Linked DNA regions of Homo sapiens: regions 1, 2, 3, 5, 6 and 7 are each linked to region 4. Evidence: promoter capture Hi-C in 16 types of primary human blood cells and fetal thymus (Javierre and others, 2016). All regions are on one chromosome and are shown on one strand. The core of a region is centred on a gene start or on the middle of the fragment in contact, and the rest is flanking DNA. Distances in the headings are between cores, read along the strand shown.

Region 1 (2,801 bases), core at 148-2,647, 310 kb after region 4:
TCTGTGTAGAAGTAATGCAGGTACAAGATCTAGAGTTTTTCCTTAGACTCTTTAGTCTTTTCTGAATTAAAGAATAAGTGCTCTTAAATCCATATTTTATCCTGTCAAAGTCTGAAATGTGTTCATTGATGATTTGGTGACATCTAAAAAATTGTATTTAGTTGGCTTGGCTCACCCCTCTTAAAAATACTTAGCCATCTCTTGGTGGGATGTGGTGGGGGTATTAAGGTCTCAGAGTTATTTATTTTCTCACCTAATTTCAAACCTTTATAAACTTGGGGTTTTGTTGTTGATGGTGGTAGTATTTTTTGTTAAGTTGTTTAAAAGGCTGACTTGATTGGAGCCTCCTCTACTTTTTCTTGAGGGTTGCAAGTATTGTATGGTGGGGGAGGGGGGCCTTAAGGCAAACTGTCTAAAAAGTGACTATCCAATTAATTTAACTAGTAAATTAGTAAGAATTATTCTTAGTATTCACTCAGAGTTTAAGATGTGAAAAATCTGCACTTTGTTTATCACTCTAAATGTAAAGAACTTTTTGATAGTGTTATTTCACCACTCCCTCAGTTAAAGGCTATTATTTAAACTGTTTACTGGAGAAAATCCTCGCTCATGTCCATTTATTGTTTTTTTCTGTACTGTGATTTGTTTCAAGCTTAGGAAAACTAGTATATTAGAGTATGTTCTAGGAAATTAAAAGATCTGGTTAGAGTAAAAAGTTCTTTTTAAGGTTCTTAACTAATTTTTTCACAACTAAGAAAATAAATGAAGTATTCTTAGGCTGAAATTCATCTTATTTTATCATAAATTAGATTGTAGGGGCAGCCTACATTTTTGTGTATGTGTTTTTATTTCTTAAATGATTGTGTGAGCCTGGTGACATTTTATGGTTCTTGTGATCTAAACTGTTTTTCCAATTCACATCTTTTGTCGTGAAGTGATATTATACTAGAGTACTGTTTGCATTGTAAAAATGCTTTGCTGGTGCTCTGGCATTTTGTCTTTATCTCATCACCTAATTTAAAAACCCAGCACTTGATAATATAACTGACAGAAATGATTGTACCCACTGATGAAGTAATGAAAATGAAGAAAAGGAAAATATTCCTTCCTTCAATGGCGTAAGTTTATTTTTTACTTAAGTGGCATCTATGTAAGTTAGACAAACTATATATTAAAATTGGTAAACTTTGAATGTTTCTCCTGTTTTGATTCTTAGATTATGAGGAGGATCAGACAGAATAAGACTCCACACTTTTGAAATTTGATAAGTCAAAACGTTTTATTTTGACATTTTTAACATTGTGAATTATTCGATATTTGTAATCTCTGTATGTATATGAAACTCTGCCATGTTTTTCAACTTTGCCTATGTGCCACTGTATATAAGAAAGGACAGCTATTTTGATCTTCATCAGCATTGCCTTCAGCTGAAAATTTGGGAACAGTTCACAGTAAACCTCTCAGTAGTTTGCAAACTGAGGTACCTGCAGAAACCATAGCTACTCACCAAAATACACAGATTAGGTGCATGGTATCGTGGAAATTATTTGGTAAAAAAACACACACACAAATCTATGTGTACTGTATTTTAAGGAATATCTACAGGTGCAGCTTTGATTTTGAACAGAATTCCAAATAATTTACTGTTGTACCCACCAGAATCTAGAAAATGTGAATTAAAGTACATGTTTCTGCAATCTTTTCTGTCTTGTTTTTCCCCGCTATTTTAAGTGTTTCTTTTTATGGCATGAGAATTTGATTGTAACCTGTGGAGAAGGGAGAAAATGTATTTATAAGTAGTCTGAGGTTGTTTCTTATCATAATGGCAAGCATTGGCTGGCATTGTATTAAGGGCTTTTACATGCATAGTTTGGCTTTAAAAGAATACACCGTTAATCTTCACAATAGCACTAGTAGGTAGGTACAATTACTTCTCTGTTTTATAAGTAAGAAGACTGAGGATAAAAAAGGCTAAGTAACCTGTCCATAGTCACAAATTCTAGGTTGTGGAGCAAGAATTTGAGACGAGAAAGACTGATTCTAGAACCTTTGTGACATTTTGTAAGTTGGCCTATTTCCATTCAGCTACAAAGTGGGAACAATTAAAAGCATTGTTTGATTTGTATTGAATCATAAAGCTTATAAAATATGCTTATCTTATTTAATTTTTTGAATAGGTAATACATTCACATGGTTAAAAGAAACAAACAATATAAAAAGTTATTCAGTGAATGTGTTCCTGTGTCCTTGGCCCAGCTTCCTCCACTGCACACTCATCTCCCACCATGAATAGCCTGTGCTCTTGGTTTCTTAGGTTTCCATTCACACTGTTGTAGACAGGTACAAACATATACAAATGGAAAGTCTTATTTTTTCTCTCATTTTTACTCAAAAATTGACATCATATACATACGACTTCATTTTTTTCACCTAGTATTTCTTGGCAGTCTTCACATATGACTAGATAGTTTTCTCATTTTTTGAAGTAGATACTTGGTATTCTGTTATGTGAATGTGCCAGTGTTGAATTAACCCGTCCTCTATTAATGGGCAGCTGGGTTGTTTCCAGACCTTGTACATATGTCATTTCACATTTATATAAATATTGTACCTGTAGAATAAATTCCCAAAGATAAGAATTTTGGGGGCAAAGACTGTGTGCATTTATAATTTTGAAAGATATTGGCATATTGTCCTTCATAGGGGTAGTCATCAATTCACATACCATCTAAAATTTATGATAGTACTTGCTAACCTGCAACATTACCAATGTAGATGTTATTAAAATGTTGGATTCTGGC
Region 2 (2,700 bases), core at 95-2,594, 480 kb after region 4:
GATCCTCAGGGCTCCCTCTGCTTGGGTAGTGGTGGCTGTTGGTGGGTTGCTGGCCTGTTTCTAAGAAGCCTGTCCTTCCTCCTAGGAGTAGTAACTCTGGGCAGCAGGGTGTCTGGGTGTTTGAGATTGGGAGTCCAGCCACCACCAATGGCGTGGTGCCTGCAGACGTGATCCTCGGAACTGAAGATGGGGCAGAGTATGATGATGAGGATGAAGATTATGACCTGGCGACCACTCGTCTGGGCCTGGAGGATGTGGGCACCACGCCCTTCTCCTACAAGGCTCTGAGAAGGGGAGGTGCTGACACATACAGTGTGCCCAGCGTCCTCTCCCCGCGCCGGGCAGCTACCGAAAGGCCCCTTGGACCTCCCACAGAGAGAACCAGGTCTTTCCAGTTGGCAGTGGAGACTTTTCACCAGCAGCACCCTCAGGTCATAGATGTGGATGAAGTTGAGGAAACAGGAGTTGGTAAGACCATTTAAGTTGCAGTTGGTAACGATCTTGGATGTGTGGGCTTCCAGACAGGCGTACTGCTGGGGAGATGTCAGTTGTGAGCATTACATGGTGGTTTGTAAAGATAAGAGCTTGGGAAAGTAGAGGCTGAACTCTCACAGCCGTGGAGCCTTGGTGTTATATGCCCAGTGGCTTCAGAGATGCTCAGTGATCTTTTGGGATTAGGACCATGGTTTTGGAGACTGTTGAGTGTGTCTTCTTTCAAGTTTCCTAGTATTCCGTTCTGTCTGTTTTAAAGAGAAAACGTCCGTTAGAATTGTTTTGAAAGTCAGATTTTCTTGTGATTTCTCAGATCAGAAATGTATTCATCCACCTGAAAAAACATTTTAGAAGTTCTTTTGGCTGTCTATGAAGCTTATCTTTGACATTTATTTCCTCTTGGTTTTGGAATTAGAATTGTTGATTATTTTTCTTCCCAGGTCCCGTCAGTTTCAGAGTTGGTTTGTGAAGATTAAAAAATATATATATATCAAAGTAGATACTCTTTAAAAAAAAATAGGGTCGGGGGTGGTGGCTCACACCTGTAATCCCAGCACTTTGGGAGGCCGAGGCAGGTGGATCACAAGCTCAAGAGATTGAGACCATCCTGGCCAACATGGTGAAACCCCATCTCTACTAAAAATACAAAAATTAGCTGGGCGTGGTGACACACGCCTGTAGTCCTAGCTACTTGGGAGGCTGAGGCAGGAGGATTGCTTGAACCTGGGAGGCAGAGGTTGCAGTGAGCCGAGATCATGCCACTGCACTCCAGCCTGGCAACAGAGTGAGTCTCTGCCTCGAAAAGAAAAAAAAAGTTTTACAGTACATTTTCTGGTCAACTATGTTATATCAGATTTTTGCTACATTTTGAGGGAAAATAGAACTCCTGGATGCTTTCATTTTTCTTATAAAAGATGTTCTAGCCAGGCACAGTGGCTCATGCCTGTTATCCCAGCACTTTGGGAGGCCAAGGCGGGTGCATCACCTGAGGTCAGGAGTTGGAGACCAGCCTGGACAACATGGTGAAATCCTGCCTCTACTAAAAATGCAAAACATTAGCCAGGCGTGGTGGCAGGCATCTGTAATCCCAGCCAATCTGGAGGCTGAGGCCAGAGAATCGCTCGAACCTGAGAGGTGGAGGTTGCAGTGAGCCGAGATCGCTCCATTGCCCTCCAGCCTGGTTGGCAAGAGCAAGACTCTGTCTCAAGAAAAAAAAAAAAAAAGATGTTCCAACTAAACTGTCCTCATTATTTTTTTTTCACATTAGTTTGATACGGAATCCACTAAGACTCATATAAATGGGATAGTCCAAGCCTTTAGATAAGCTTATTGCAGCTGTCTGCTGCTTTTCTACTAAGGAATGATCATAAAACTCTTAGAGAAGTCTGGCCCATTCCACACTGTTCACTCATTTTTATTTGCCCTTACTTGTTCTGATTTATCTCACAGCAGTAGCCATACACGCTTGTTCTCACGAGTATCCCAAACTGTGGACGAGATGGGGTGCTTACTGGCTGGCGTGCTGACTTACTTCTGAGGCACGGAAATGGAGAAGCTGCCATTTGGTGGCAGGACAAGGACAGGGGCTCATGTCTTAGGTTCTCCTACTGCACCCTGGGTTCCTGGGGTGATGCTTACATTGCTCAGCACATGCCACTCTGCCGTGGGTTTTGGAGTCATCTCCCCCAGATGTGTTGGGTGTGTTTCCTTGCATATGTTGGGTTTTGAGTTCCATCCTGTCTCCACCCTTTCTAGGTGTCTCTGAAATTCTCATTTGTGAAGCCATCACATTTGAATGAGACCATATCCAGCCCAACAACTTGGGGCAGTGTATTACTTAAGACTGAAAAAAGCCTAGATTTGAACGCAGATTGTGTCTAAAACAGATGTTTTCCTGTCCCTCTACCCCAGTTATTTCCCTATGTTGAAGAGAAAGGTCAGTCTTCTGTGGCCAGTAGTGCATTCCTGGTGTTATTTGAATAGTTCACATGTACACAGGCCATAATGACCCCTGAGAGCTCTGCCCACAGCTGGAGTTTAAGTAATCAGCGGCATCACGTGTTCAGTTCAGGGCTCAAGTGTGCTCGGCTCCAAACGCTGTCTTTATAAAGCCAGAAATTCCCTTCCGAGTATGTAGGACTCATAGAGTCTACCTGGGTTTAAACTTTGCTTTTCTCTTCACTCGTAACAGTCAATTATGAATGGGAT
Region 3 (2,700 bases), core at 123-2,622, 380 kb after region 4:
TGACGGCGGCACCGCGTTATTAAACCTTTGTGCAACGCTATACAAAGTATTTGCAAAGTGCTCAACAATTACTGCACTTTCATTAAGTCAACCATCAGCAGTAAAGCAGCAGCCAAGTTAATTCACATACTCTCCCATTAGCTTATTTAATAATATGCCCCATAAAGTGATTTTTGTGTGGCTGTAAAAGAGCCCCAGTCAGCTTTTATGGCCTTTTCTTGGGGCCTCTCAGATGAGCTCAGACAGTAACTCTGATGAGCGGCAGCAGCTCGGAGCTGGGTGTTACCCCAGCCTGCTGTTTAGCAATCCGGTGGAATGAGTTAGTAAGCCGCAGTTCTGTAGAGCTCCTAAGCCGGAGGTTCAAAACATCTCATCAAAACCAACATGGTCTCACCCTGCCAACGCTCAAAACAGCAGTGTCAGGCCCAAATCTGGAGGCCAACGTGCAGAAGACCTTTCCAGGCCGGGAGTTAGGTGCCTGGGGAGGCAGGGCAAATTCTAGAGTTCAGGCCTCCCTTGGGGGCACACCTTCCATCCGTACTAACTGGCGTGTGCAGGCGCTGCTGCTTCGCGCTGCGCACGGAGAAGCGCCCCGAATCCACCGCACGATGCGGAGCCAGGGGCAGCGAGTGAGCGGCGGCCTCCAGCCCTCCCCTGCCTTCTCCTTGCCCCTTTTGGGAATGGCAGGGGGTTTCCTATGACAAATGCCCGCAAACAGGACAGGGTTCGGACGACCCCAGAGCCGGCGCCTTCTCCCTACACTCTCAGCCCTAGGGCCGGACCCGCCCCCGCGGCTGCCATCGCCCCTGCCTCGGGCGCCCCGCGGGGACCACCCCGCCAGGTGAGCGCCTCCAGGAGCCTCTCTGAAACTCACCTGCGTGAAGTACAAGTTCATCAGCGTGAGGGTGAAAAACTGCAGGCACACAGGGAAGCAGTAGAGCAGCCAGAAGACGAAGGGGCTGAGCGAATTGGCCGCCACGAAGTCTTTGAAGTAGAAGGAGAAGAGGACGGTCCGCAGGGAGGCCCAGAAGAGGCAGAGAAAGAGGAAGACGCTCTGGTAGCTGAGCCGCTTGTGGCGGTAACGCAGCACCAGCCAGAGCTGCACGTAGATGAACACGAAGAGCAGCGCGTAGAACACGGTGTAGACGACGGTGAGGCCAAGCTTCACGTAGGGGGGCACGGCCGGGGTCAGCGTGGGCGGCAGCGAGTCGTTGCGGGCTGGGTCCCACGGCGGGGTCTCCATCGGGCCGGGGGCGCTGCCGCGCGGCCGGGGACGCTCGGGCCTCATCGGGGCTCACGGCCGCCGCCGCCCCCGCGGGGGTCTCCGCGCATCGCGCTCAGCCTGCAGCCCCGAGACTGGAGGAAAGAAAACAAGCCGCACTTCCTCCCCCGGCACCACATGATTCACTGGGACGGCCTTTGTCTGCGATTGGCAGCGCCGCGCCCGCCGCCCCCGCGCGCCGACCGGCCCCGCGCGCCCCCGCCCCGGCCCGCGCGCCCCCGCCCCGGCCCGCGCGCCCCGGCCCGCCCTCCCCCGGGCACCGCGCGCCTTCGCCCCGCGAACCCCGGCCCGCCCTATCCTCGCCACCGCGCGCTCCCGCAGTGCGCGCCCCCAGAGCCGCACGCCTCCTCCCGGCCCCCTCCCCATCCCCGGGGCCGCGCGCTCCCAGACTGCGGGCCCCCAGAGCCCCGCGTCTCTTCCCCCCTTCCCGCCCCCTCCCCATCCCAGGGGCCGCGCGCTACCCGTCCCCGGCCCCTTCCCCATCCCCGGGGCCGCGCGCTCCCGCACTGCGCGCCCCCAGAACCGCGCGCCTCCTCCCCGGTCCCGGCACCGCGCCGCGCGCCCCCAAAACTTCCCAGCCGCGCCCCGCGCCTCGGGGGATCGCACTCGTGGCCTCGCGCATTCTGCTGCTGATTGCTTGTTTTGCAGAAGTTAATTCCTTTATTTAAAAACAAATTTAAAAAAAAAACTTTACAAGTCCTTTCCGTCCCCCCCTTTAAAAATAAAACTTTACGACTCTGTGGCTATGAACTGGCCGGCGTCTGGAATGATGTTTATTTCTAAATGCAGACATGCCAAAGACAGGGTTCGTATTTTTGAGGTCAAATTTGTATACTGAGTGAGGAAATAGACGGTGCCTGCGGCTGCTGCCTCCTCTGGGATGCAAGCTGGGCTGTTTTCTCCCGGAGAGCCTCACGCGCTCCCAGCGCCTCACCTCCCAGCGATGTAGCCGGTGCCGGGAGGCGCGCGGGCCGCGGGTCAGTGGATGGAGCCCACTGGGCTTCAGAGAGAAGTGGGGCAGCTGACGGCACACGGCCCCCCTTGTCCGATCCAACCCATGCCGAAGGAGGGTCTGTCCCCGCCACCCGAGAGCCCTTCTCTTTTGCTTTTGCTGAGCAGCTCGCTCCTCGAGGCTGTACAGCGACTTAGTCTTTGCCCCGGGGCACCACGCCACCCTTGTCTTGGGAGAGCTGGGGAGTGCTCTGGGAAAAGAGGGAAAGCCGGGCGCCCTCTGGAAACATTGCTGGGCAAGCGGTTCTGGTAAACAGAAGAAACTCGGATTTCCGAGGCTCCAGTAATTGTGATTTCTTTTCTTACTCCACTTCGTGCCTAATTGTGTGTTCTTTTTCCAAAAGACGGCCTGGCATATCCAGAATCCACCCTAGCTTTTGCTCAGAATTACTTAGTGGTTACAGCGC
Region 4 (2,700 bases), core at 52-2,551:
TTGAGTTAATAAAACAGCGAAAGAGTAAGCGCTATGTTAGCTATTATTATTGTGAATAGAAAGAATTGCTCTTCCTCCTCCAATTTAAACAAATCAAAGTAGGGAAAAATCCAATACTTTTAATACTATTAAGATACGGTTTTCTCTGTTGCTTAAAAAAATAATAATCACAGGGCAGGGGAGTGTTGGAAAGCATCAGCCACATTTTTTAAGATAAAAGCACTCATGGACACTACACTACATTTAATAGCTCCAGGAAAAACTCGACTTTAAGCAGAACTAAAGGGGAAATGAAACCAGAGCTTCCTGTATTTTACTTCCAGCAATTCTGTCATTATACTGCACACCAACAATACACACCGATCAAATCTATCACTTTTTCTTTATTAAGAAAAAAAACTGTATCCCTCTTGGTTTACCACCTAAATATAGCCCCATGTCATTAACTTAATTCGTTAGTCAAAACCTCAAAACTCTGGCTCCGTGACTCAATTCAGGAAGTAAGAACAAGAGCAAAAAGAATGGATGCCGAGTTGCCATACACATGTATAATAACAAGCCAGTGACCCAATTTAAGCCATCTGCTTGCATTAAATCACGCAACCCCCGAAGTATCCCCAGGGACAGGTCCCGCCAGCATGAACACTTCGTATGCATCACAAGCAGCCATCACTTAAGTTTCACGTACGGTCAAAGGAAGTCACATGACTTGCGCTTTGCAATGTTTAACACTGCAGTCAAATGACTCGGCATCCTAAAGAGCGTGTTAGAGGCAGGGAACGCAATGGAGGTCACTCCACTGTCACTACAAATTCCGGGAAGGAAACTTCCCCAGATTCCTCCACTTGGAGGTGGCGCTCGGCCTCAGGCTAGGAGGGAACAGGTGAGAAAGCAGCCCAGGTGGGGTGGGTTTGCAGCGAGGAGACACCCCAGGGCAAACAGCCTGACCCCAGCCAGGGATGTCCAAGAAAGGCCGCGACTCCTGATAATCCCTTATGCCCCGGAGCGCCTCGCCTGCAGAGGCAGCGTCCCCGCCACCCAGCCCCGGCTCTGCCGCGGTGAGGACCGGCGGGTCGGGGTGGACTGGACACTGTCCCACCCATCAAATGGTGATTTAGGAGCCGTGACATCCGAATGCCATCCTCCACTGGCGAGACCCTCAGAGCAGCCACGCCTCTAGCGACTGCCCCGCCACCCGAGGCCGGGGGTCGCGCGACTCACCCAAAGACTGGTGTTTCAGGCGCTCCACGGAGCAGGTTGTTTGTCAGCAGCTAAGTGCCGTCAGGGTTCCCGGCTCTGGCGTCCGTGGGCGGCTACGGGAAGCGACAGGAGTCAGTCCTCGTTCACTTCCCGGCTCGCGCGCCTCACTGCTGTGGTCTCCCCACCCTCCCCGCGCCCCGCCTTCTGTGTCTGGGGCGTCCCTGGCGGCTCTGCTGGGTTTTGGACAGGGACCCGCCGCTGATCGCCACCCAGCTCGGCCTCCTGCACAGCCTCTGGAGCCTTGGACCGCGACTGGCTTGCTGTGGGACGAGCACAGAGGGATAAGGACAAAGAATGTGTCCTGGGTGGATCTGGCTGCCTTTGCCCGGAAGGCGGAGTGGGGTGGGAGGTGGTAGGAAAATGGGAAGGAAAGAAAAGAAAGGTGGGCCGACGTCCACCTGGCTGTTCCAGGCCTCCAGGTCTAGGAGGGAGGGCGCTCGGGGCTGGGACTTTTCAGGACCAGGGTGGTCACCGCACAGGCCCCGCCTGCCTGGACCAAGCGCTGGCCTTCCCGGGGCGCCCAGGTCCACGGGGTCAACGCCAGGGTTTTCTCAGCTTCCTCGTCTGCCTCGGATCCAAGTCCAGACAGTGCCAGAAGAGACTTGGAGGCGCTGCTTTTTGACAGTACACACCTCTGTATGCAGGTGAAACGGTGGGGGAAGGGTTCAGTACGCTGGACTGTGCCCAGCCCAAGCTCCCCATCCGTTAGTGATAACTTGGACTCGCAGCCACTCCGCGTCACTCGCCAGTTATCCTGCGTGTGGGTGTTTTCTCCAAATTGGACACTTAGGGAACAGTTTAAGCAGTATGGAGCACAATTCTGTGCCTATTAGATGCTCTTAAATACCCGACTTCTCAGGGCCCTACACTGACTGATAGTTTGACCTATTGGCTGTAAACACACCAGCCAGAAATACAAATAAAGTTAAACAAAGTCATGTCAGCCACTTGGAATGGCTGGCTGCTTACTGTTTATTTTCTGTTAGGGACCTCAAAGTTCTCATCTTCTCTACTTGGCTTTTATCCACATTTGTTTGGAAAGATATATTTTAGTGTCATTAACGTGGGCTTTCTCCTCCCTGGCTTTTGTTTTCATTATTTTTTGTTTTAATTGAGGAATTCATTACAAGTCCCATAACTGGGAACTCATGTTCTGATTCACTGTTGCTTTTCTCTCCTCCTTACCCATTTTCCAAGCCTGATGCACTTCTCAAGATCCAATCTGAATAGGTGAATTTACCCTTGACATACACTGCCTTGGATTTATAGCTGTCTTTTGGTATGTGTTGTGTGTTTTATCTATCCAACTCGACTGTAGTTTGAGAAAAGGAACTTGTCTTATACAGTCTCCAGTGCATAGTGTAATGCTTTGCATAAAATAGATATCAATGTTAGGTTGAAATGTTAGATTATTGATAAAGTCAGGAGCAATTGAATATC
Region 5 (2,828 bases), core at 1-2,500, 340 kb before region 4:
TCTGTTAAAAGGCTTTCATTTTTAAATGGAAAAGGGGTTGAAAGAGGTGAGGTCCTAACTTACCGGAAATTATTGCAGCCAAGGACTACTCCAACTATGTTCTTGCCTATGTCGTGCACGTCGCCTTTAACAGTGGCCAGCACGATGGTGCCCTGGTAAGGGTCCTGGAAAGGAAGCCAAGCAGCTCAGCAAGGCAGGGTTGTTTAGGGTGGAACACCTAGTTCTCCAGAGCCAGGCAGGGGCCAGCACAGAAAGCAATTCAATACAACCAAGAGCACCTCAAAGACAGACCTGGAAACCGAAGCCCAAACAGTTCAAAGGAGGCCCACCTAATGGGCTAGCCCAAGGGGCTTCAGCCAAGATCAGGAGGTCCCATCCTTTCAAAGAATAGTTGATGTTCACACACAAAACAGCACCACAGCTGAAGACCACATCCTTAACTCTGGGTGCGGGGGAACTTATTTGACAAATGTTTACGGTTAGCCATTAAGGGAGAGGCAGGGGAGAGGGGAAGGAACAGGTTAACTGTATGTGTATGTCCCATCTGAATCTGAAAAACCACAACAGCCCAGACAGAGGGCACGTGAGTATCTTTCCTCAGCACTGTTGTTCTATGCACAGTTAGCATCCCCCACTACTGCCCCAAAAAAAGAAAAAAAGCAAAACAAGAAGGATTTTTATAAACTCTGTGTTTGTCTGAGCCATTCACAAACAGATCAATTTAAAAATTCAGAATCCTAGGGGCCAAAGCTGTCTGAGCTTCACAGGGAGCTAAACAAGGTCAAAAAGCTTAATGATTTACTCTGGTGGTGCAGCCAACAAGAATTAAATTGAATCCAGAAGTGGTGCCAAGGACATCACCAGCAGAAAGACTATTCAGTTAAGAGTTTTCTAAAAACAAGCATGACTCAATGACCTCAAGGGCGGGGACAGACCTTTGAGTGAGCAGTGCCTGGCACAGTACTTGGCACATCACAGCAGCTTCGTAAATGATCAGGTAATGAAGGCACAAATGAATGAACTGGCTTTGTCTTGAAAACATGGGTTTTGATTGAAAAATTGTATCTATATTAAAAATGTTATAAAGCTACATTCAAAAGAAAGTCCCAGAGTATTCTGATACTCGGTTAAAAAAGGGAGAGATGTGGGATCATTTCTCTATTTTATCCTCAATAACGAACACAGCCAACCCTGACTGCTTAGGCCCCTACCACCACCTCAAGTCTTCCAGGTCAACCCACTAAAGGCCCATAGGCCTGAACAAAATGACTTGCCTCTTCTTCTACTGTGCCGTTAAGCACTCTGGTTTCTTCTCTTTCTTTTTCCATGAAAGGGATAAGGTGGCCAACAGCCTTCTTCATAACCCGGGCTGACTTTATAACCTGAGAAAAAAAGCATAGATCAGGTATCTTTCCCAAACCACAGGAACAACTGCTGATGGCCACTTGTGAAATTTGGGCACACATTAGGAATGCATGCTTTGACTTCAGGACAGCTACACTGGAGTCTTTTGACAGTAGGCAGAACAAAGGATAAGCTCCCCAGAGGGAAAGCCAGTGAATAATAAGGTACAGCAGAAGGAAAACAAGGCTGGAAATCAAATGTTGCAATTTCTGTCTTCTGAACTTTGGCTTGTTTTTTTTTCCTCTGTCTAGGAGGCCCTCTATCTTTTATCCAAGAGTTCTATGTATCCTTCAGGACCAAAGCTTCTCCACCATGAGCTCATTCCCAGCCTTCTCTTCTCAATCCCCAGCTTTAAAACTCACTTAAAATCCAGTCTTACATTAAGGCAAGATGAAGGCCTTTTAGTTTCTCAAATGCCGCACAGCCACTAACCTACATGCTCAACAAGTATGTGTTAACTGATGTGGTTAGCAGCTGCTGTAAATCAAAGTAAGAGTTCTGGTTTTACTTTAAACAAACCACTTAATGTACCGTCATTTAAAACAGTAACATTTGTCTCAAAATATGCATCCTTACAGATGAACAGTGCCTGGTCAAATCAAGTCTTAATGTTAGTAACTCTACATTTATCTTGGGTTTTACTTTACTTTTGGAGGGGAGAGATAGGCACTGGGGGTAAGAGGTGATACAAAAATTAGAACATAAGGATTATGATAGATTATGATGCTAAGAATTTTCGGATTTCCAACATCCACACCACTCTGAAGACGGATTCTTGCAGACATGACTCCTAAACATATTTAGAGAAGGAATGACTAGCCAATACCATTGAACTCTTGTCCAAATTAAAACCTGAGAAATATATCCCAAATCGCCATTTATTAAATGACAAAGAAAAGATGCAACTGTGAAAATTTCTCCCCATATTTTGCTAACCTGAGGTAGAAACATTTTTCCAGCTCCAAAAAGATCACCAACAATTTTCATTCCATTCATCAGGGGTCCTTCAATTATATTGAGAGGTCGGGGATATTTTTTTTGGTTTAACCTGGCTTCCTCAGTATCCTCAATAATATGTTTTTCAATGCCCTAAAAAAGACAAAAAAAAAAAAAAAAGAAAAAGAAAGAAAGAAAAAAAAAATCACCTAAAAAACTGCCTTACCTCCACAGAGCCATCATGAAAATGCCTAACAGCACAGGTTCCAGAAGCAGAGTGCATGGACTCAATCTGGCTTCCTATCACTAATTTAGGCAATTCAATAAGCCTCAGTTTCCTCAATTAGAATATTACAATAGTATCTCATATGTTTATTTTGAGGATTGAGATAAAGTGCTTAGCTGGCTTTATTGATACAAACAAAGTAAATACCTCATACACTTCCAAAACAGAATGTTGTATGCAGTAAATACATACAATTTTATAT
Region 6 (2,787 bases), core at 173-2,672, 280 kb after region 4:
GGTTGGTCTCAAACTCCTGACCTCAGGTGATCCGTCTGCCTTGGCCTCCCACAGTGCTGGGATTACAGCCATCAGCCACCGTGCCTGGCCTATAGTAGTTTTTAAAATTACTGTCAGGGTAGCTTTAGAATCATTGTTTAGTTATTGCTGTTTCCCAAATTCAGTGGATTAAAACAAAAATATAAAGAATATTCACCCAGTTTACTAGGGAATATGTCCATTTCCTGCTGTTTTGCTGTTGATAATGACTTCATTTGAATGGAAGATGATCCCTATAGATCAAATAGTAGTTTTTAAAATAATTTAGTAATTTAATATCCTTTAAGGTAAACTGCTTTCCCTACCACTCTTTTTTGTTGTTGTTGTTACTGTCTTTATCATGGCTTGCTTCTTGTTCATGTTTCTCCTCAAATGTCACTTTATCAGAAAAGCCTGCTCTCATCTCGCTGTGTAAGATAGTAGCCACTATCACTCCCTGTCCCTTTGCTTTGATGGCCCCCACCCTGCCCAAGCACTAACAACTGTCTGACAGTATATGGCATATTATTGAGTGTATCGGTTTCTTGTCAGTCTTCCCCAGCTAGATTGTGAGCTATTTGAGGGCAAGGGCTTTGTTTTTGGTTCACTAATGTATCCCTAGTGCCTAGAATGGTGCCTGGACGTGGTAGATGCTTAGTAAATACTTGCTGAATGAACTAGTTGGTTCATAAAAAGCCTAAATAGCATGATAGATTTTTAGTTTTATTTTTTCCCTTAAAATATGTTCATTAATAAATTTAATGTTTAAAACAGTAGTTTCTAAATCTGGTTGTGTATCAAAATTTTTTGAGAGCTTTATAAACTGTAGCTTCTCCTTGACTGTAAATCATGTTTTAATAGTGAGTTAGTAGCAGTTTGGGGTAGGGTTGGTGATGGAGGGCTTTAAGCTTAATCCTGAGTCTATAATACAGTATTTTTTTATCTGTGACCGTAGCAAAGAGCTTGCACACTAAGTTGTTCTGTATGCTACCATTAATGTTTAAGAGATATATGAGTTAGGAAGTAGGGAGGAAAGTTTAACATCCTAGAAAATGTGGTATGACCTCATAACTCTATTAAATTAGGACAGTGGAAAGGAAATTCAGTTAGAAAAAAATCGTATACTTAAGGCCAGGCACGGTGGCCCATGCCTGTAATCCCAGCACTTTGGGAGGCTGAGGCAGGTGAATCACCTGAAGTTAGGAGTTTGAGACTGGCTTGGCCAACATGGCAAAACCCTGCCTCTACTAATAATACAAAAACTAGCCAGGCGTGGTGGTACATGTCTGTAGTCCCAGCTACATGGGAGGCTGAGGCAGGAGAATTGCTTGAACCCGACAGGCAGAGGTTGCATTGAGCTGAGACCATGCCATTGCACTCCCCACTGCTCAACAGAGTCAGCCTCATCGCAAAAAAAAAAAATATATATATATATATATATACACACACACACACATATACACATATATATATACATATATACACATATATATATACACATATATATACACATATATATATACACACATATATATATATATATACTTGAAGAGGAGGAAATAACACTAGTTCAACTTCATGAATTCCAAGAATAAGGAATTATGAAGCTGCTTTGTAGAGGCAGAAAGAAGATAAAACTTTTGTGGGAGAGGGTCATAGTAGAGGGCCAGATAATTTAGAGAGAATTATCTGAATGAATGACGCAGCTGTGCAAACTGAGACAAGTTTCAGTTGAACAAATGAAAATCAGTGTCACAGATGGCCCAGGGATAAGGATGGGCACTACCAGCTAGTGTGTTTGTAGAGAACTTGGCCTGTAGATGCTTTCTGCCACACACGTTGCTCACTCTGGATGTCCCATGAAATTCTTGTCAGTATAGAGCAGAGGTTGGTAAGCTTTTTAAGAAAATGGACTAATGGTAACTATTTTAGGCTTTATAGACTGACTATAGGGTCTCTGTTGGAATTACTCATCTCTGCCATAATAGTGTGAAAGCAGTATGTAAACAAATGAACATGGCTGTGTTCCATGAAAACTTTATTTACAAAAATAAGCAGCAGGCCAGATTTGGCACACAAGCTGTAGTTTGCAAACTCCTTGTATAGGTTAACAAAACCCACTCTTTTCATGATTTGAAAAAGTATTACAAGATTTTTTTAAAAAGTATTGATTAAACTAAGGGAATAAACATTAAGAACATTGAAAATGTAAGTTTTACTTAAGTAGTTATAAAACCTGATGTAATTGAGCTGTGTGTCGTGGTGAGCACCTGGAGTCCCAGCTACTTGGGAGGCTGAGGCAGGAGGCTTGCTTGAGCTCAGGAGTTCGAGTCCAGCCTGCACAACAAAGTAAGACCACTTTTCTTAAAAAAGAACAATGAAAAACCTGATATAATTGATTTTCCTCTTGTGATTTTTTAGCTCCCTTAAAGTATATTTTAAATCATCATGGTTTAATATCTGAATCATGGTTTTTCTTCTTTATTGGTTATTTGGTTGGTTTTCTTGGGAAAAGAGGTTGGTACTAGTCCAATTTGCACGTTTGTAGAGGATTCTATACACATGTAGTCCTACATGTACACACACATACACAAATTATTTATAAATATATAATATATATGTGTCAGAGAACATAAATTAATGTTATATTGTGAAGCTTATATATAATTCAGTTTTGCAGATGAATTTATTCAAGAGCAGCTTATGGAGATTAAAACTATACAACTTAGAAATTAAATACTGAATTTTAAGATTTTTTTTCTTTCCTAA
Region 7 (2,700 bases), core at 115-2,614, 400 kb after region 4:
CAGACAGCCTCCCTCCCCTGGGTCCTCACATGGGCTTCCCTCTGTGTGTGTCAGTATCCTAATCTCCACTTCTCATCAGGACCAGTCATATCCGATTAGGACCCACACTAATGGCCTCATTTTACCTTAATTACCTCCTTCTATTTGGAGAGAAGGCCCTCTCTCCAAATACAGTCACATTCTGGGTACTGCGGGTTAGAGCTTCAACATGTGAATTCCGGGGGAAGTACCCAGCCTGTGACACAAGGCTCACCAGGTCATCTGAGGTGAGTGGTGGCGGAAGGGAAGATTGCCTGTGATCATCATTCCTGCTGCTCATTGGCTTCTCTCTCTGTGCCAGGCTCTGTTCTATGTACTTTTCATGCAGTCAGGAAGTAACTCCTATTATCCTTGTAACGACCAATGAACTGACACTTCCCAGGAAGAGCAAAACAAAACAAGGCCCAAGTATCCGGATTGGTCTTGGACTGGAACAGGAAAGATGCAGGCAGATGATGGTTCACTGGAGTAGGCCCTGTTCAGCGTGTGCTTTCATCCGTCTGTAACACACATTGCAAACTCACCTTGTTGCTTGTCCAATGTGTTGGTTTCAAGATCATTAGTTAATCAAATCCACCAACAGATTTACTAAATGTACTGAATTTACTAAAGATTTACCTGGTGTTGGGCATGGAGCAAGACAGTTGGAAAGCTTGCAAGGGTAAGACATGATCCTGTAGGGGAAGTGCTTTCATGGTTACTTGTAGGCAGATATAGAAACTCTGGAAAATAGAAAGAGTGAATAATACTGAGTATTTGATCACACACTGAGGACTGTGGTCCATAATGGTTTAATTGTATATTTTAAAATGGCAGCCAGGCGCAGTGGCTCACGTCTGTAATCCCAGCAGTTTGGGAGGCCGAGGCGGGTGGATCACCCAAGGTCAGGAGTTCGAGACCAGTCTGGCTAACGTGGCAAAACCCCGTCTCTACTAAAAATACAAAAATTAGCCAGGCATAGTGGCGGGCGCCTGTAGTCCCAGCTACTCGACAGGCTTAGGCAGGAGAATTGCTGGAATCCGGGAGGCAGAGTTTGCAGTGAGCCGAGATAGGGCCACTGCACTCCAGCCTGGGCAACAGAGCAAGACTCCATCTCAGAAAATAAAGTAAAATAAAATAAAAAAAAAAAATAAACTCTGGAATGCTATGAATAAAACCAATAGTAATGGTTAAGGGTGGGACCTGGGGAGGTGTGGACAGAGGAGCAAGGGAACGTTGTCACTGTATGCATTTTGTATATTTTTATTTTTTTGAGTTGTTTATCTACTTGGCCTGTTCACAAAAATTATGTTGAGAGGGACAGAGAGACAGAGTGTTTGTCAGACATGAGCCCCTCCTCAAGGGGCTTATAACTAGTCACGTTGGCATTAGGCCTTGGCTTTAACAACACAGCAAGGCTAAAATGATTTCACTTTCTCCAGGCAAGAGCCTATGAGAGTAAATGGGACTAGAACCATGATCCTTACTTTGCAAGTAAAGAACTGAGGTCAAGAGAGAGCATGTGGATACGACCCCATGGTGAGTCGGGGTTCACGCCTGAACACAGGGAAAAGTCCCTGATTCATCATTTGAAACCCTCTTCACTGCGTATGTGGTTGGCCCTTTGAGAAGTTGATGGAAGTTTCTGTTAAAGTCATTCAAAGAATATGTTTTGAGTCAAAATGCCCATGGTCCCTGGCCTCTTGGGGTTCACATTTTAGTGGAGAAAATAAGGTAGATACTCAAATGAGCCTATGAGTACACGTTGTAGTAAGTCCGATGAAGAGGAAAAAGAGATGCTACGAGGAGGAATAGCCAGGGACAACACTTGGGCTTGGGTGGTCAGGGGAAGCTCTGGCTCATTGACATTCAGCTGAGATCCACCGAGCTACGAGAGGGCTGTTGAGGTGTGGACAGGACTGTAAAAGGGAAGGGTCATTCCTTGAGCCCAAAGCCTGTGGTCTTCTAATACAATGTCATTCGTGGGTTCCCTGTTGGCTCATCAGCTACCAAGCTTGGTACCAGGCAATTTGGGATAGGATGAAAACAAAGTCGAAAACATGCTCTTTGACCCCAAAAAACTTACCTCCTAATTGGAGAAGTGAAAATAACCCAGAAACAACCACAGAGTGCTTTAGAGAGTCATGGGATATGGCCGGGCATGGTGGCTCACGCCTGTAATCCCAGCATTTTGGGAGGCTGAGGCGGGTGGATCACCTGAGGTCAGGAGTTCAAGACCACCCTGGGCAACATGGTGAAACCCCATCTCTACTAATAATACAAAAATTAGCTGGGCATGGTGGCGCGTGCCTGTAATCCCAGCTACTCGGGAGGCTGAGGCAGGAGAATCGCTTGAACCCGGGAGGCAGAGGCTGTGGTGAGCCGAGGTCGTGCCGCTGCACTCCAGCCTGGGCAACAACAGCAAACTCCATCTCCAAAACAACAACAACAAAAAAGAGTCTTGGGTTAGGGGAGGAAAGAAGGAGAGATGCAACCAGGTGTGATTGATTTAGCAGGTGGAAAAGTGGGGAAGGCCTACCAGGCAGAGAATCGAGGTGGGTAGACTAGTCTCGTGGAGACAGACCATGGTCCTGGAGTCATTGATGTTGAATCCCAGCTCCTCCGTGTGCCCGCTGGGTGACACTGGGCAAGTTATTTTTTCTGTCCAAACTTCAGTCTTCT

What was found. The method cuts DNA at HindIII sites, captures the fragments that hold promoters and counts their contacts. A CHiCAGO score of 5 or more calls a contact.
Region 1: a fragment that was not itself captured here is called in contact with the fragment with the promoter of LGALS8 in region 4 in 1 of 17 cell types (M0 macrophages); the score reaches 5.5 in M0 macrophages.
Region 2: a contact is called between a fragment that was not itself captured here and the fragment with the promoter of LGALS8 in region 4, in 1 of 17 cell types (M2 macrophages). The highest score is 5.4, in M2 macrophages.
Region 3: the fragment with the promoter of GPR137B here is called in contact with the fragment with the promoter of LGALS8 in region 4 in 16 of 17 cell types (M1 macrophages, M2 macrophages, M0 macrophages and 13 more); the score reaches 17.1 in M1 macrophages.
Region 5: a fragment that was not itself captured here is called in contact with the fragment with the promoter of LGALS8 in region 4 in 1 of 17 cell types (naive CD4 T cells); the score reaches 5.7 in naive CD4 T cells.
Region 6: a fragment that was not itself captured here is called in contact with the fragment with the promoter of LGALS8 in region 4 in 1 of 17 cell types (naive CD4 T cells); the score reaches 5.1 in naive CD4 T cells.
Region 7: a fragment that was not itself captured here is called in contact with the fragment with the promoter of LGALS8 in region 4 in 15 of 17 cell types (M0 macrophages, endothelial precursors, M1 macrophages and 12 more); the score reaches 13.8 in M0 macrophages.

Annotation. Positions count from the first base shown.
Region 1 is chr1:236,214,451-236,217,251 of GRCh38, reverse strand. ERO1B (endoplasmic reticulum oxidoreductase 1 beta) reads left to right here. Exons shown (of 16, transcript NM_019891.4): 16 at 1-2,151. Among named protein-coding and RNA genes, the nearest start is that of ERO1B, 66 kb to the left of the region's middle. The HindIII fragment of the contact is 1,486 bases long and covers 655-2,140 here.
Region 2 is chr1:236,039,678-236,042,377 of GRCh38, reverse strand. It overlaps NID1 (nidogen 1), which reads left to right. Exons shown (of 20, transcript NM_002508.3): 4 at 86-468. Among named protein-coding and RNA genes, the nearest start is that of NID1, 24 kb to the left of the region's middle. The HindIII fragment of the contact is 950 bases long and covers 870-1,819 here.
Region 3 is chr1:236,141,211-236,143,910 of GRCh38, reverse strand. It overlaps GPR137B (G protein-coupled receptor 137B), which reads right to left and starts at 1,372. Exons shown (of 7, transcript NM_003272.4): 1 at 875-1,372. The coding sequence starts at 1,288. RefSeq lists an enhancer at 645-1,148 and silencers at 1,114-1,383, 1,454-1,633. The HindIII fragment of the contact is 3,564 bases long and covers 1,165-2,700 here.
Region 4 is chr1:236,522,583-236,525,282 of GRCh38, reverse strand. It overlaps LGALS8 (galectin 8), which reads right to left and starts at 1,301. Exons shown (of 10, transcript NM_201544.4): 1 at 1,222-1,301. LGALS8-AS1 (LGALS8 antisense RNA 1) reads left to right here and starts at 775. Exons shown (of 1, transcript NR_034040.1): 1 at 775-2,214. RefSeq lists a silencer at 959-1,008. The HindIII fragment of the contact is 5,952 bases long and covers 1-2,700 here.
Region 5 is chr1:236,860,790-236,863,617 of GRCh38, reverse strand. It overlaps MTR (5-methyltetrahydrofolate-homocysteine methyltransferase), which reads right to left. Exons shown (of 33, transcript NM_000254.3): 20 at 2,341-2,493; 21 at 1,275-1,382; 22 at 64-164. Among named protein-coding and RNA genes, the nearest start is that of MTR, 67 kb to the right of the region's middle. The HindIII fragment of the contact is 917 bases long and covers 792-1,708 here.
Region 6 is chr1:236,238,565-236,241,351 of GRCh38, reverse strand. All of the region lies in intron 6 of ERO1B (endoplasmic reticulum oxidoreductase 1 beta), which reads left to right. LOC124904561 (a long non-coding RNA gene) reads right to left here. Exons shown (of 2, transcript XR_007066961.1): 2 at 2,040-2,355. Among named protein-coding and RNA genes, the nearest start is that of ERO1B, 42 kb to the left of the region's middle. The HindIII fragment of the contact is 988 bases long and covers 929-1,916 here.
Region 7 is chr1:236,121,324-236,124,023 of GRCh38, reverse strand. No RefSeq gene overlaps it. Among named protein-coding and RNA genes, the nearest start is that of GPR137B, 20 kb to the left of the region's middle. The HindIII fragment of the contact is 1,341 bases long and covers 694-2,034 here.